3 separate regions of the Homo sapiens genome follow, and regions 2 and 3 are each linked to region 1. The links are contacts of gene promoters, found by promoter capture Hi-C in blood cells and fetal thymus (Javierre and others, 2016). All regions are on one chromosome and are shown on one strand. The core of a region is centred on a gene start or on the middle of the fragment in contact, and the rest is flanking DNA. Distances in the headings are between cores, read along the strand shown.

Evidence for each region. The method cuts DNA at HindIII sites, captures the fragments that hold promoters and counts their contacts. A CHiCAGO score of 5 or more calls a contact.
Region 2: a fragment that was not itself captured here is called in contact with the fragment with the promoter of EDC4 in region 1 in 1 of 17 cell types (total CD4 T cells); the score reaches 5.9 in total CD4 T cells.
Region 3: a contact is called between a fragment that was not itself captured here and the fragment with the promoter of EDC4 in region 1, in 1 of 17 cell types (fetal thymus). The highest score is 5.1, in fetal thymus.

What each region holds. Positions count from the first base shown.
Region 1 is chr16:67,871,496-67,875,647 of GRCh38, reverse strand. It overlaps EDC4 (enhancer of mRNA decapping 4), which reads right to left and starts at 2,596. Exons shown (of 29, transcript NM_014329.5): 1 at 2,305-2,596. The coding sequence starts at 2,386. It overlaps NUTF2 (nuclear transport factor 2), which reads right to left. Exons shown (of 5, transcript NM_005796.3): 5 at 3,081-4,152. RefSeq lists an enhancer at 1,880-2,380 and a silencer at 2,274-2,483. The HindIII fragment of the contact is 5,556 bases long and covers 1-4,091 here.
Region 2 is chr16:68,199,913-68,204,168 of GRCh38, reverse strand. All of the region lies in intron 9 of NFATC3 (nuclear factor of activated T cells 3), which reads right to left. Among named protein-coding and RNA genes, the nearest start is that of MIR6773, 31 kb to the left of the region's middle. The HindIII fragment of the contact is 4,748 bases long and covers 1-4,054 here.
Region 3 is chr16:68,244,134-68,248,712 of GRCh38, reverse strand. It overlaps PLA2G15 (phospholipase A2 group XV), which reads right to left and starts at 3,340. Exons shown (of 6, transcript NM_012320.4): 1 at 3,160-3,340. The coding sequence starts at 3,286. RefSeq lists enhancers at 2,374-2,874, 3,996-4,534 and a silencer at 3,291-3,520. The HindIII fragment of the contact is 1,545 bases long and covers 527-2,071 here.

The DNA.
Region 1 (4,152 bases), core at 1,347-3,846:
AGGGCATAGGAGGGGTCAGGAAAGACTTTATACAGCAGTTAGTGTGACCAGAACACACAAACACAGGAAGGATGGAGTGAAAACAAAGCTACAGAGGCATCAGGTATGATGCCGTGGCACTTAGACTCTCCCTGTGGGCCATGAGAACCATAAAGAGTTTCAAAAGGGAAGGTGATGTGGTCAGTTCTGGCCAGTGGGAAGATTACTCTAAGATAGCATGCAGAATGGTTGAGAATCTGGGTGAGAGAGATCAAGGCCTAGACCAATGTAGTGTCAGAGTTTGGAGAGAAGATGGGCTCCTAAGGCATGGAAGGGCACTGGTAAGATGTGGAAGGGGCTGCCCCACACAGAAATGGCTCAGAAGAAGCTATCTTGGGCAAGTAAACACAGAAGGCAGGGACATAAAGGAGCTGGACCAAAAGGAGAGAAACTATGGGGCAGCGTGTGGAGTAAGGAAAGACAGCATTTCAGTTCTTTGCAACTGGCTGGGTTTCAAACACTCTCATAGGCTCAGACACCATTTCCAAAATCCCCAGGTGGCAAGGAGCCTAGGGCTCCACATTCAGAACATAGCAAGTTTCCAGTCACAACAGTCTTTGAATTATTTTGGCGCGATCTCGGCTCATGGCAACCTCTACCCCCTGGGTTCAAGGGATTCTCCTGCATCAGCCTCCCAAGTAGCTGGGATTACAGCTCACCTAATTTTTATATTTTTAGTAGAGATAAGGTTTCACCATGTTAAGAAACCATGTTGGCCAGGCTGGTCTCGAACTCCTGGCCTCAAGCAATCCACCCACCTCGGCCTCCCAAAGTGCTGGGATTACAGGTGTGAGCCACCGCGCCCAGTCCTCAATAGTCTGAGTTCTGACCTGGTCGTCCAGTGAGAGGAGACAAGAAAGAGCTGCTTGGCAAACAAGGGAATCAAGTGCCAATCAATAAACAAAGTAGTTATAAGGAAAGCCTCCAGGCCACTTCATTCAGATCAGAGCCACTTTAGCTGCTCAGGGACAAGCTGACAACTCTCCCTTCCATGAAGGGTACCATGAGGACAACCAAAAAGCAGGCTCAGGCTGTACATGGTTGGCCATGCCAGGCTCTACCAAATCTCTGCGGAGTCTAGTCTACAAAGCAGCTGAGCAGCAGGAGAGGTCCACGCCCAACTCATGAGTAAAGAGGGCACACACTCCAGGCCTGGGACAAAGGGCCGAGTGGTCTCAGGCAGCAGATGGATTTTCTGAAAGTAGGGGTTAGTTGAATCCACCCCTAGTGAGCACCAGTGCCTGCTTCCAGAAGCAGCCAGTCTGGGCCTCCCAGCAGGTGTAAGAACAAGATCTGAGGAAACACAATTCTCCACTGTACGCCCACACCATCATCACCGGCCACTTCAGAGATCCCTAAACCTGTCAGTAAACTAGTGCCTGCACACGTGCTATTTCCTCTTCCTAATAGGTGGCTTCTCCATAGGTGCCTTGGGTGCCTTTCCTGACACCCAAGCCCCTGTTCACATTACAAGACCTAGCCCAGTCTCCCCTCTCAGACCTGCACTCTGCACTCACCAGCCTCCACCCTTCCCACGCCCATCACAGTATCGAGACACTCCTTTCTTTCAATGACAACAGTATATTACAACCCTGTTAGCTGTGTCTTGGGGAATCTTTGGGGGCAAGACTAGTTCTGAGGTATCATTAAGAGCCAAAGCGAAATATGAATGAATGGGAACCAATTAGGGCTTGCAGATATTTGTAGCATAATTCAGTCAGGGTGGTGCGGTCTGTGATTTGCCTTCATCCCAGAAAGAACACGGAATTGAGACTGGACACCTTCCTCCTGGAAATCAGTTTCAGAACGGGAGGCCTGGAGTCTTTATTCCAGAGAGAAGGGCAAGTTATGGAGGGGGACCGGCAGCTCTTCAGCATCGCGCTTAAGCCTGGGCCCAGAATTCCATATACGGAGCCCAGACCAGGCCTCTGAACCATGGAGAAAGGGAAGAGGAGCTAGGCCAGTCCCAGGAACACTAGAGACCTCGGGGCCAGGAAACCAGAGGGCCCCAGCGGATTCAGAGAAGGCGCCTCACCTTCAACCGAGACGCTGAAGGACAAGGCAGAACAGCCTGAGGACAAGATAGGGAGGGGTCACACCCAGGGGTCTGCGCCCTTCGAGGGGCACAGTCAATCCCCGTCCACCCTTACCCGCCGGGAGGATCCAGAGCTAGTCCTAAGGGAGCTGTGGGCCCCAATGGCGGTTCAGACGCGCGCCGCCCTTTTGTCAGCTCGCCTGGGGCCCACCCCCGCAACCCCCGCTCACCGCCCGCGGGCCGGTCCAGCTTGAGGATGTCCCGCAGGTGCTGCGTGGCGTCCTCGATGTCGATGCTCGCGCAGGAGGCCATGGGCCCTGCGGCGGGCGCCCCGCCCGCACCGCGTTCGTTCCGCCGCCGCCGCGCACCACGCACCCTCGCTCACCCGCCACGGGGCGAGACAGCGGGACGCCGGTCACTACACAGTCCACCCGCAGTTCGCAAACCGCCACCCGCGCAGCGTCGCTGAGCCCCGCCAACCCCACCAACCGCCTCCACTTCCGGCACCCACGAGCCGAGGCTCCCGGAACCTGCCAGGGCCGGAGAAGAAAGGTTCCGGGCTGGGGGCGGAAGCCTAAACCCCTCCCGCAGCCAGTCCCCCTCGGCGGCCCCGCCCCTGTGTCCGCGAGGTCAGGAAAGTCCCACGGGGCTGAAGTAAGCGTCCACGCACTGGGCCACCTAAAGCCCTACTCGACTCAGAAGGCGCCAGGTCCCTGCCCACTCCCAGAGCATGGACTCCGATGGTCCTGGGACGGGGTCAACTTAGCCGCCCATGCTAAGGTCCCTCAGACCCCCAGAATATGCTGAATTGGCAGGTGCCTCAGGTTCCCTTTGGGAATGGGTCGGAATAACTCAAGGCCTGAGGCTACCCTCGAGGTCATAAAACTCAGGAATTGCAAGAGCAGGGGAGATGATCCCACTACAATGACCAGTCATTGTTCCCTACTGTCCCCCAGCATCCCCTTGTCCCACCTGGCACCCTCAGGTTGGAAGAAAGAAACCACAGTTTACAAATTCTTCTTTATTGCAGACAGTTCAGGCACAGGTACATGGAAGAAGCCGTATTGCAGATTTTACACAAGGTGGTTTGAGGCAGCAGGCACCTACCTCTTCCCCACCCCCACTTCCCCAAATACACATCAGCCTAGAGATCATTCCCACTGAAATCTCCTGAGCATGCTGTCCTCTCAAACAGCACACCATCCAGCCCTGTGCCCAATGTCACCAGGCAATCTGTGGGATCTGAGGAGGTCCTTAGCCTCCACCCGTAGTGGGACAGGGGAAGGGTATCCTTTTACATGTCAGATTTAGCTGTGGTGTCCTTACCAATCCTAAAACCCTTAACAGGGCACTGACCCAAATCTTGGGTTTGGTTCTAGCCTATGGTTGCTACATTGCCACTAGGTTTATACCATCCAGAAGTCTGTGGGACAAGGGGCTAGATTTGTACTGGGCAAGGCCTTTGTCCCCAAAATGGAGAAGCAGAAACTGCCCTAATAGCTAAGACTCCCCGGAATTGGAAGATAGCATGAAGTCTGTATGCTGAGGAAGGAAGTGGAGAGAGGCCTGGCAATGTCCTGCAGCAGTCTGAGGGGTGAGGACTCCTAAAGCATGAGTCCCTCACAGACTGCCTCCTTCCACAGCTCCTGACCTATACTCCAACACAACTGGGCCTGGCTCTGTGGGCAGTGGAGGCTGGCTCTTCGGGTTACCTGCCTTTGGGTAAAGATATCCAAAGCAGATGGGACAGGAGCTGAGCTGCCCTCTGCCTGGCTTGGTGTATGTGGGGCATCCTGGATATGATCCTGATCCTTCTGGGGATAGAGCAGGCCCCTCCCTTGATACTGCTGACAACTCAGCCCGGAGGGCCTGAACGTGATGAGCCATTTTGCCAAGGCCTCTCCAGCTTCAACAGGATTCAGGATCATCTCTCCTGCTACTAGGGCCCTGAACCTACCCAGAGCAGAAGTCACAGGAGGTATCAGAACTGACTGCACAGGCTTCAGTGAGAGAAGCTTCAGGCCAGACCTGAGCTCTTCCTGCCTGCTTTCCAAAGACCAGTCGCCCTGTGGAGTGGG
Region 2 (4,256 bases), core at 431-2,930, 330 kb before region 1:
TCGCCCAGGCTGGAGTGCAGTGGCACCATCTCAGCTCACTGCAACCTCTGCCTCCCAGGTTCAAACGATTCTCCTGCCTTAGCCTCCCAAGTAGCTGAGATTACAGATGTGTGCCACCACACCCGGCTTATTTTTGTATTTTCAGTAGAGACGGGGTTTCACCATGTTGGCTAGCCTGGTGTCAAACTCCTGGCCTCCAGTGATCCGCCTGCCTCGACCTCCCAAAGTGCTGGGATTGCAATCATGAGCCACTGTGCCTGGCCCAATTTTTACTGTTTTTAGTAGAGACGAAGTTTCACCATGTTGGTTAAGCTGGTCTTGAACTCCTGATGTCAAATGATCCTCCCATCTCGGTCTTTCAAAGTGCTGGGATTACAGGCACGAGCCACCGCGCCCAGCCATTAACTATTTTTAAATACACATTTTGAGGGGAACTTAGTTTGAAGACTTCTGATATGCTGCTTTAGTGGTAGCCTCTCTTGGACTTTTCCTAGCTTATGTATAAATTATATTTTTAATTGCATTTTATTTATTTTGAGACAGGGTCTCACTCTGTCGCCCAAGTTGAAGTGCAGTGGCATGATCTCTGCTAATTTCAACCTCTGCCTTCCAGGCTCCAGCGATCCTCCCACCTCAGCCTCTCGAGTAGCTGGGACTATAGGCACACGCCACCACACCCGGCCTAATTCTGGTATTTTTTATAGAGACAGGGTTTCACCATGTTGCCCAAGCTGGTCTCAAACTCCCGAGCTCAAGCGATCCACCGGCTCTGGCCTCCCAAAGTGCTGGGATTACACACGAGCCACAGCACCTGGTCATGTATAAATCTTAATGTAGGTTGATTAAAATAAATTTTTTGTTCAGAAATAATACATTCATTTAAAAAAAGGTACAACTTATTTATGTCCATGGAAATACACAGACGCATTCGATATAAAAAATAAAAAATCTTCTCAAATGTTTGTTGTTCTTTCTTCATTAGGCCTAAAACTCAATTTTTCTTATTGTATGTCCCAGGGTGGTTGTGTCTAAGGTCTTGAATCCCCATCATGGTCCATCTCGCATAAGCCATGATTTAAAGCCTACATAGGCATTATTTACAAGACCTTTCAGCTTCTGGAATCATTCATCCTAAACACGTTTGAGGCTGTATAGTACATGTATGCTTCCCAAAAGAGGATTCGTGAGTTATCCAGTGTCCAAGTTAAAAGAGAAATTTCAGCATTATCTACCTCCCTCCACTCCAGTGCCCATAGTGATTATACCTCATAGATGACACATTCTCACCACTGGCTGTGTATGGCTTTTATTTAATTTTATTTATTTATTTTTTTTTATTATTTATTTATTTATTTTGAGATGGAGTTTTGCTCCTGTTGCCCAGGCTGGAGTGCAATGGCACGATCTCGGCTCACTGCAACCTCCGCCTCCTAGGTTCAAGCGATTCTCCTGCCTCAGCCTCCCGAGTAGCTGGGATTATAGGTGTCCACCACCACGCCCAGCTAATTTTTGTATTTTTAGTAGAGACGGGGTTTCACTATATTGGCCAGGCTGGTCTCAAACTCTTGACCTCAGGCGATCTACCTGCCTCGGCCTCCCAAAGTGCTGGGATTACAGGCGTCAGCCACCGCGCCTTGCCTTGTTTTATTTTAATAAAATAGACACCAGTGAAACCACTAACCAACAGGTGCAAGAGAACACTGACAATACTAACCTCTCTGTTCCTCCTCCATACCAGTCTCCTGCTTCCCACATCCAAGTAACCACCTGAATGTTGTGTTTATCATTCCCTTGATTTTAAAAAGCACCTGCTTTTTGAAAGCAGGCTCTTCTGCTTGTCTTTTACATACAGAACTGAAGCAGCTGAGGTCATGACTAGAGTCCCTGTTTACTACTGCTGAATTACCAAATGCCCTACATTCAGGATCAGCATGTTACTGCACAGAGCCTGCAAGTGGCAGTGTCAGTTTTCAGCACAGCATCAGGTCAGGCTATATTTAACATGCATCCTCTTCTCTGCTGAAGAGCTGCAGCTGTGGCTCTGTTAGTCTGTGAACAAGGAGGACAAGTGGGAACTGAGGGACTTTAATGGAAAGTTGTAACAGGATTCGGTTAACTCAATCATAAATTAAATGGGCCTGTATTTAAAGGTCTAAGATAGTCTAGTTTCACAATACTATAATCTTTTTTTTTTTTTTTTTTTTTTTTTTTGAGATGGAGTCTCACTCTGTTGCCCAGGCTGGAGTGCAGTGGTGCCATCTCAGCTCACTGCAACCTCCACCTCCCGGATTCAAGTGATTCTCCTATGCCAGCCTCCCAAGTAGCTGGGACTACAGGCATGCACCATCGTGCCCAGCTGATTTTTCTTTTTTTCCTTTTTGGTAGAGATGGGGTTTTGCCATGTTGGCCAGGCTGGACTCGAACTCCTGACCTCAGGTGATCCACCCACCTAAGCCTCCCAAAGTGCTGGGATTACAGGCATGAGCCACTGTGTCTGGCCGCTATAATCTTTCTTTTTTTTAAAAGAAACAAACAAAAAAACAGTATCAATTACCACACTGAATCAAATCTTAATTAAAATGTTTAAAACAGCTTGACAAACGGGCACAGTGGCTCACGCCTGTAATACCAGCACTTTGGGAGGCCAAGGAGGGCAGATCACTTGAGCCCAGGAGTTTGAGACCAGCCTGGGCAACATGGCGAAACTCCATCTCTACCAAAAACAAAAAACAATAAAAAAAACAAAAACAAACAAAAAACCCCCCAAAAATCAGCTAGGCACTGTGGTGTGTGCCTGTAGTCCCTGCTACTTGGGGGGCTAAAGTGGAAGGATCACCTGAGTCCCAGGAGGTCAAGGCTGCAGTAAGCCATGATCACGCCACTGCACTCCAGCCTGTGCAACAGAGTGAGACCCTGTCTCAAAATAAATTTTAAAAAGGCCAAGTGCAGTGGCTCATGCCTGTAATCCCAGCACTTTAGGAGGCTGAGGCAGGCAGATCGCTTGAGGTCAGGAGTTCAATACCAGCCTGGCCAACATGACTAAACCCTGTCTCTACTAAAAATACAAAAATTAGCTGGGCACGGCAGTGGGCACCTGTAATCCCAGCTACTCGGGAGGCTGAGGCATGAGAATCGTTTGAACCCAGTAGGCAGAGGTTGCAATGAGCTGATATTGTGCCACTGCACTCCAGCCTGGGTGACAAGGGAAACTCCATCTCAAAAAATAAACAAATGAAAAACAGCTTGACAGTTTCCATATCTGTTATAAAATCAACTGTTTTAATGTTTACTGTCTGGTCCAAAACCTGCGGCATAAAAACCATAACGAACATAAATGTTTACGGAAAATTACATTTCCAGGCATACGAATTGTAAATATGAGTAAAATTCAGTGATAATTGGACAGCCACAGAACATGCTTTTCAAGGAGGTGCAATGATATATGGAGGTAGTGAAGAAAATATAAAGACAAGAAGCAAAATAGTCATGAACTATGCCTTAATTGTTTGAGTAAGTTTATATTACAGCCTTCCAGGGGGACTACTTGAAAGAGAACTTGGTGAAACGTCAGTACTGTGCTGCTGTTGTAACCCCCAAAGGAATATCTGCCTTGCCCCAGGAAGCCTGAGACTGAGAAATGCTTCTGGGATTCTTCTGAGCTTGGAAAATTGGTATGAGGCACCGAAATCATCTCAATGAAACTGAACAAGGATAATTATAAAGTTTAGTCTTTGGTCCAAAAAAACCCCATATATATATATATATAAACCTATGTAGGGAAAGGACACAACTTTGCATAATTATGACTCACTAAATCAACAGTATATCACAGCTAAGAAAATCCCCTGACCTCAGGCCATACTGATAAAGTCTTTTCAACAGGGAAAGTGACAGTCTTAACCCACAACAAGCTAGCTACAATGTGTTCCCTTCTGGATACTCCACTATGAAAGGGAACTTAAACATCACGGTTCAAGCAGAAGGAAATTTGCATTTTGGTGAGGGAAGGATGAAGTTGCTGGAGAGTTTTTAAGACTGGGAAAGAGATCAAGCTTTCACACATGTGAAGGCTATTATACAAGAAGGATTAAATATGTTCTGAATTAATCTAGAGGTATTAGATAGAGCCCACATAAAACAAGAAGAGTAGTTAGAACTCAAAAGGCCCTGAGATGTTCCAAAGAAGCTAGGGAAGAGACACAGACGAATATAATTATCATTAAGAATACCAAAGTGTGAACTCCAGCGAGAAAGAG
Region 3 (4,579 bases), core at 50-2,549, 370 kb before region 1:
CCTTGTCATTAGATATATACCTTCGAGGCAGGGCGCAGGGGCTCATGCCTGTAATCCCAGCACTTTGGGAGGCCGAGGTGAGTGGATCACTTGCGGTCAGGAGTTCAAGACCAGCTTGGCCAATATGGTGAAAGCCCATCTCTACTAAAAATACAAAAAATTACCTTGGTGTGGTGGCACACACCTGTAATCCCAGCTACTCAGGAGCCTAAGACAGGAGAATTGCTTGAACCCGGGAGGCAGAGGTTGCAGTGAGCCAAAATCGTGCCATTGCCCTCCAGCCTGGGTGACAGAGCAAGACCCGGTCTCAAAAAAAAAAAAAGATATATACCCTGGAGGCTTGAACCCAAAAGTCTTCCACCCATAGCTATCCCAGGCTACATAGAAGACAGGGTCCTGTTCGCCCTGAGAGAGGAAGAAGGAAACAGAACAGAGCCCTGGGCCACTCAGCTAAAATTCAACCAGACAAAGTATGCAGGACAGGCTGGTGGGAGGGAAATGAACAGAAACACAGCTGAGAGAAGCTTACATTGGCACCCGCCAGCCTACCAAGGGCCCAGGCCTTACTAAAGGCCAGAGTCCAGTAAGGTGCCAGAGAGCAGATCATCTGGAGGGCCCTAGCATGGCTGGGAGCCCGTATTGGAAACAGCCACCCTGAACCAGCACCATTATCACCACAGTCCAGGCCCTAGGGTGACTTCTCTCCATCCCAGCCATCCTATTCAGTGTACTCAGAACTCTGGGGCCCTGGTGACACCCAAATCCCTCCCCACTGCGTCAAAGCCCTTCACAGTCTCGTTACTCCCATTGACCTTTCGGGCCTCACCTGCCCCCACATGCCATGCTCTCGCCACTTCCCAAACACATCCCCGTTTAGGGTCCATGATCATTGAGTGAAAAACCAGCACTTGGCTCTCCTGGACATTCACTGGGAACTGACCGTAAATCCACCCTGAACAGGGCGTGCCCTCCCTGGGCACCATCCCAGTGTCTTCAGGGTGCCATGAGAGGCAGGGGCGGCACATGCCTTCACCTCCCTTCATGGTATGGGTGCAGAGGGAGGGAGTCCCTGTCATGACAGCCTCTGGATGACATGCCTGTGGACTGGGCAGGGCAGGGCAGAGACCCTGGTCACTGTCTCTACCAAAGGGGAAATGGTAAAAGAGGAAGTCACCAGATCTGCTTTGCTCAGATGCTCCTTACCCTGGTCAGGCTGTGTGGCCCCTAAAAATAGCAGTGGCCACTTCCTGAGCCCATCTGCGCCTGGAACTAGGAAAAGAGCCATCCACATGCCTTTCACCTCAAGTAACACTGGGAGGGGACAGCCTTACTATTTCCACTTAACAGATGGGGAGACTGAGGCTGCAAGAGGTGGAAATGGCCTTGCCTATGGTCCCTTCCCCTTGCCCAGGGTCTTCTGTATCACATCGCTGGTCTCTCTTTCCTCCACCACCATTTCAGGATCCACCCCTAGAGGATTCTGATCTTCTGACAGTCAAGGTCAGATCCCTGCTCTGTGCCCAGGAGCTGCTTATCCAACTGCCCACCGTGAGGTCTCCCAGGGCTAAGGCCAGCAGCCTCACTCCCTGAGAAGCTGGGCATGTTAGGACTCCTGCTGCTCTGTGATTCTGGGTGGGGTCTGAGGCTCTTCTGCTGTGACCAAGGATAAACAGACTGACTGAATTGATGAGTGCGGTTAGCATCAATCCAGGCAAAATGGCTATGTGCCATTTTGTGTGCCACAGACCACATGCTTCCTAATGCCACGCCCCTCAGACTTAGAACTCTGCAGGCCAACCCAGGACTCCCTGAGGCCCTCAAGATAAAGTTCAGATGACCCAACCAGTCACAAGTCCTGTGCAGTCCACTCCTCCTGTGACTCGATCCCAGGCAGCCTGAGATGCTCACGTCTCTCCCCGACCCATTACTCTCTCCTGGCCTTAGCTCCAGCTATATACTCCAGGAAGCCTTACTTGACACCCACCCATCCAGGCTGGGTTGGTGGATTCTCTGTGCTTGCCCCACACAGACTTCCTCTCTGGGGATCACTGTTATTCCTATCCTGCAAGCTTTGGGGAGGCAGGGCCAAGTCTGCCCAAATCCCATGGTGAACCTGGGCCTAGTATCCCCCTGGAGCTTTTCCTGGCTGGGAACTCCTGGTGGGGCCTGCCTGGCACCACCCTACCTGCCAACTCTACCCTTCTGTGATTTGCATCGTCCCCATTTAAAGTACTCTCAGCAGAAAGAGCATGGAGATCATGCTGCACTAGACTCCACGTGTAATTCATGCCTCAGATGCCTCTGCTTTCAGGAATCCTGGCTGGCCACGGACACACCAGCTCTGGATGGGAGTGACGGCCTCAATGAGGCACCCAAGGCCCCCCAGACAGAGGTCTCATCCCTGCCCATCCCTGCAAGGAAATACAGTGGCCGTTGTAGAGTTGCCAGGGTTGTGATCAAGGAGCGGGGTGAGCAGGGGAGGTCACCGAGCCTCCACATAGTCTAGTCCAAGCATGTGTGGCAGGGTAAGAGTACAAGCATGTTGCCTGACACAGGTTCATGGCCATTGTCCCAACCCTTTCCCCTGACTTCAGTTGTCTTCAGTTTCCCTTAGGCCTTTTCCCTCAGGCAATGCCACACATCTGATAAGTTGTGGGAGTTGGTGGCCAGCTAGGACAGCAATCCTTTCCCTAAGGAGGTTCCTTTCAGCAATGCCTTCTGGCATATGTGGCATTGGAGGGGTCGAGGGTGACAGCCTCCTAACCAGGCCCAGGTCGATGCAGAAGTCAACTCAGGAGCCACTCTACACACCCCCACCATCCCTCAGGAGTGGGGCTGAAGCACCTGTCTTTCCAGCTTAAAAATGGGATAAGGGGAGGCAAGGCTTGGGAATGATGCGGACAGGTGGAACTATGAATAACCAGATGGTAACTCTCCCACTCACCCCCATTTTCTACCAGGACAGGAGGTGGGGAGCTGACCACACCCGCGCCCAGCATGGCGGGAGGTGAGCCGGCAGATCTAGATCACCTAAGTGACAAGACAGATACCAATACGCTCCCCCATTTCGTGACTGGAACAGAAGCAGACCGGGAAGGCAGCCCCGCCCGCGGCCCGTCCCGCCCGACCGACAGATCCACCACGAGACCCGTGCCTCACCCAGCACCACTGGGGGGTGACGTCCGGCCGGGAGCGCTGGGTCCGCGAGCAGCATTAGCAGCAGCAAGAGGAACAGGAGGCCATCCGGGAGCAGCCCCACACGGTAGGGGCGGAGGTGGAGGCCCATGGTGTACGACGGTCGCCGCAGGTCCGGGATGCAGGTTCAGCTCTCTGGGCTCTCGCCTAGGCGGGGGCGGTGGCGACGCGCTTAACCCCGCCGCCCGCATCCCCCGCATCCCCCCGGCCAATCAGGGCCCGCCTCCCGCAAATGGCTGGCCAATAGGGACTCGCCGCCATATACGCCCCTCCCAGTCGGAGGTCGCCGCCCCGCCCTTGCCCAACCCCCTGCTTCCTGGACCACGCTGAGCGCCGAGCGCATCGATGGATCGAGGTATCGCCTGGCTCCGGGCTGTCAGTCGCCCACCCGGGAACCCAGCTCGCCGCTGCTGTACCCCGCCCAGCCCTGGGTACCCGAAATCCACGCTGCGCAGCTCTCACTTGGCGACCCCCTGACCTGGAGGATCTGGAACGGACAAGACCGGGAGAGGATAAGGGGTGCAGCGCTGGCCGCTGCTGAGCGACCCCGGTTAAAGCAAGAAGAGAGGAAGTGAGTCCCGGACAGTTCTTGGGCCTCAGGTGACCAGGAGCTGACCAGGACCTTTGTGCAGCCCCCACACCAATTCTTAGCACACCCTGCCCCGAGGGCACCTGGGTGCGGCCAGTCAGCCCCTGTAACTCTGCCCCGGGGTTACAGATGCGGGGGGAACCGGGAGAGGCCAGGTCAGCATGTTCAGTTCCCAAGAGAGGGGTTAATCTGTTCGTTTTAGGGGCGCAGAGTGCAGCGTCACCCCGCCAGTCCGGGCAGTTCGGGCGCGGGGTTGGGAGTGGGCTTGAGTCTCGACCCTGCGCCATGGGCCATCTGCAAGTTCCCCTGCAGAGCAGGAGAGGCATCGGGAGCTCGTGGTCCCCCTCCACTCTCGCAAACCTGGGGAACCAGAGAGGACATGGACTCCCTGCGCCAGGAAGCAGGGGCGAACAGAGTGGGCAAAGACCTGACAGCTGGTTATATGCCAGCACCATAGGTCACTGTGGGATAGAGGGACGAGAGTATTTGGGAAATAGAGGTCTTGATCCTCCACACACCCACCCCTTCGAAGGGGCAGCTGCACCCTGGTCATCCCACCTGGTCCCAAGAAATTTGTCCTGCCCCTTCCTTCCTTCTTCTTGGTAAGCAGCTGACCTGGCTATGAAGCCACTATCTTGCCCTGCCCTTCTCGAGTTCTTATAGTGAAACATGTTGGTGACTGGGCTACCACCACCCTCCCTCTTTCTTTTTTCTTTTTCTTTTTCTTTTTTTTTTTTTTTTTGAGACAGAGTTTCGCTCTTGTTGCCCAGGCTGGAGTGCAATGGTGCAATCTTG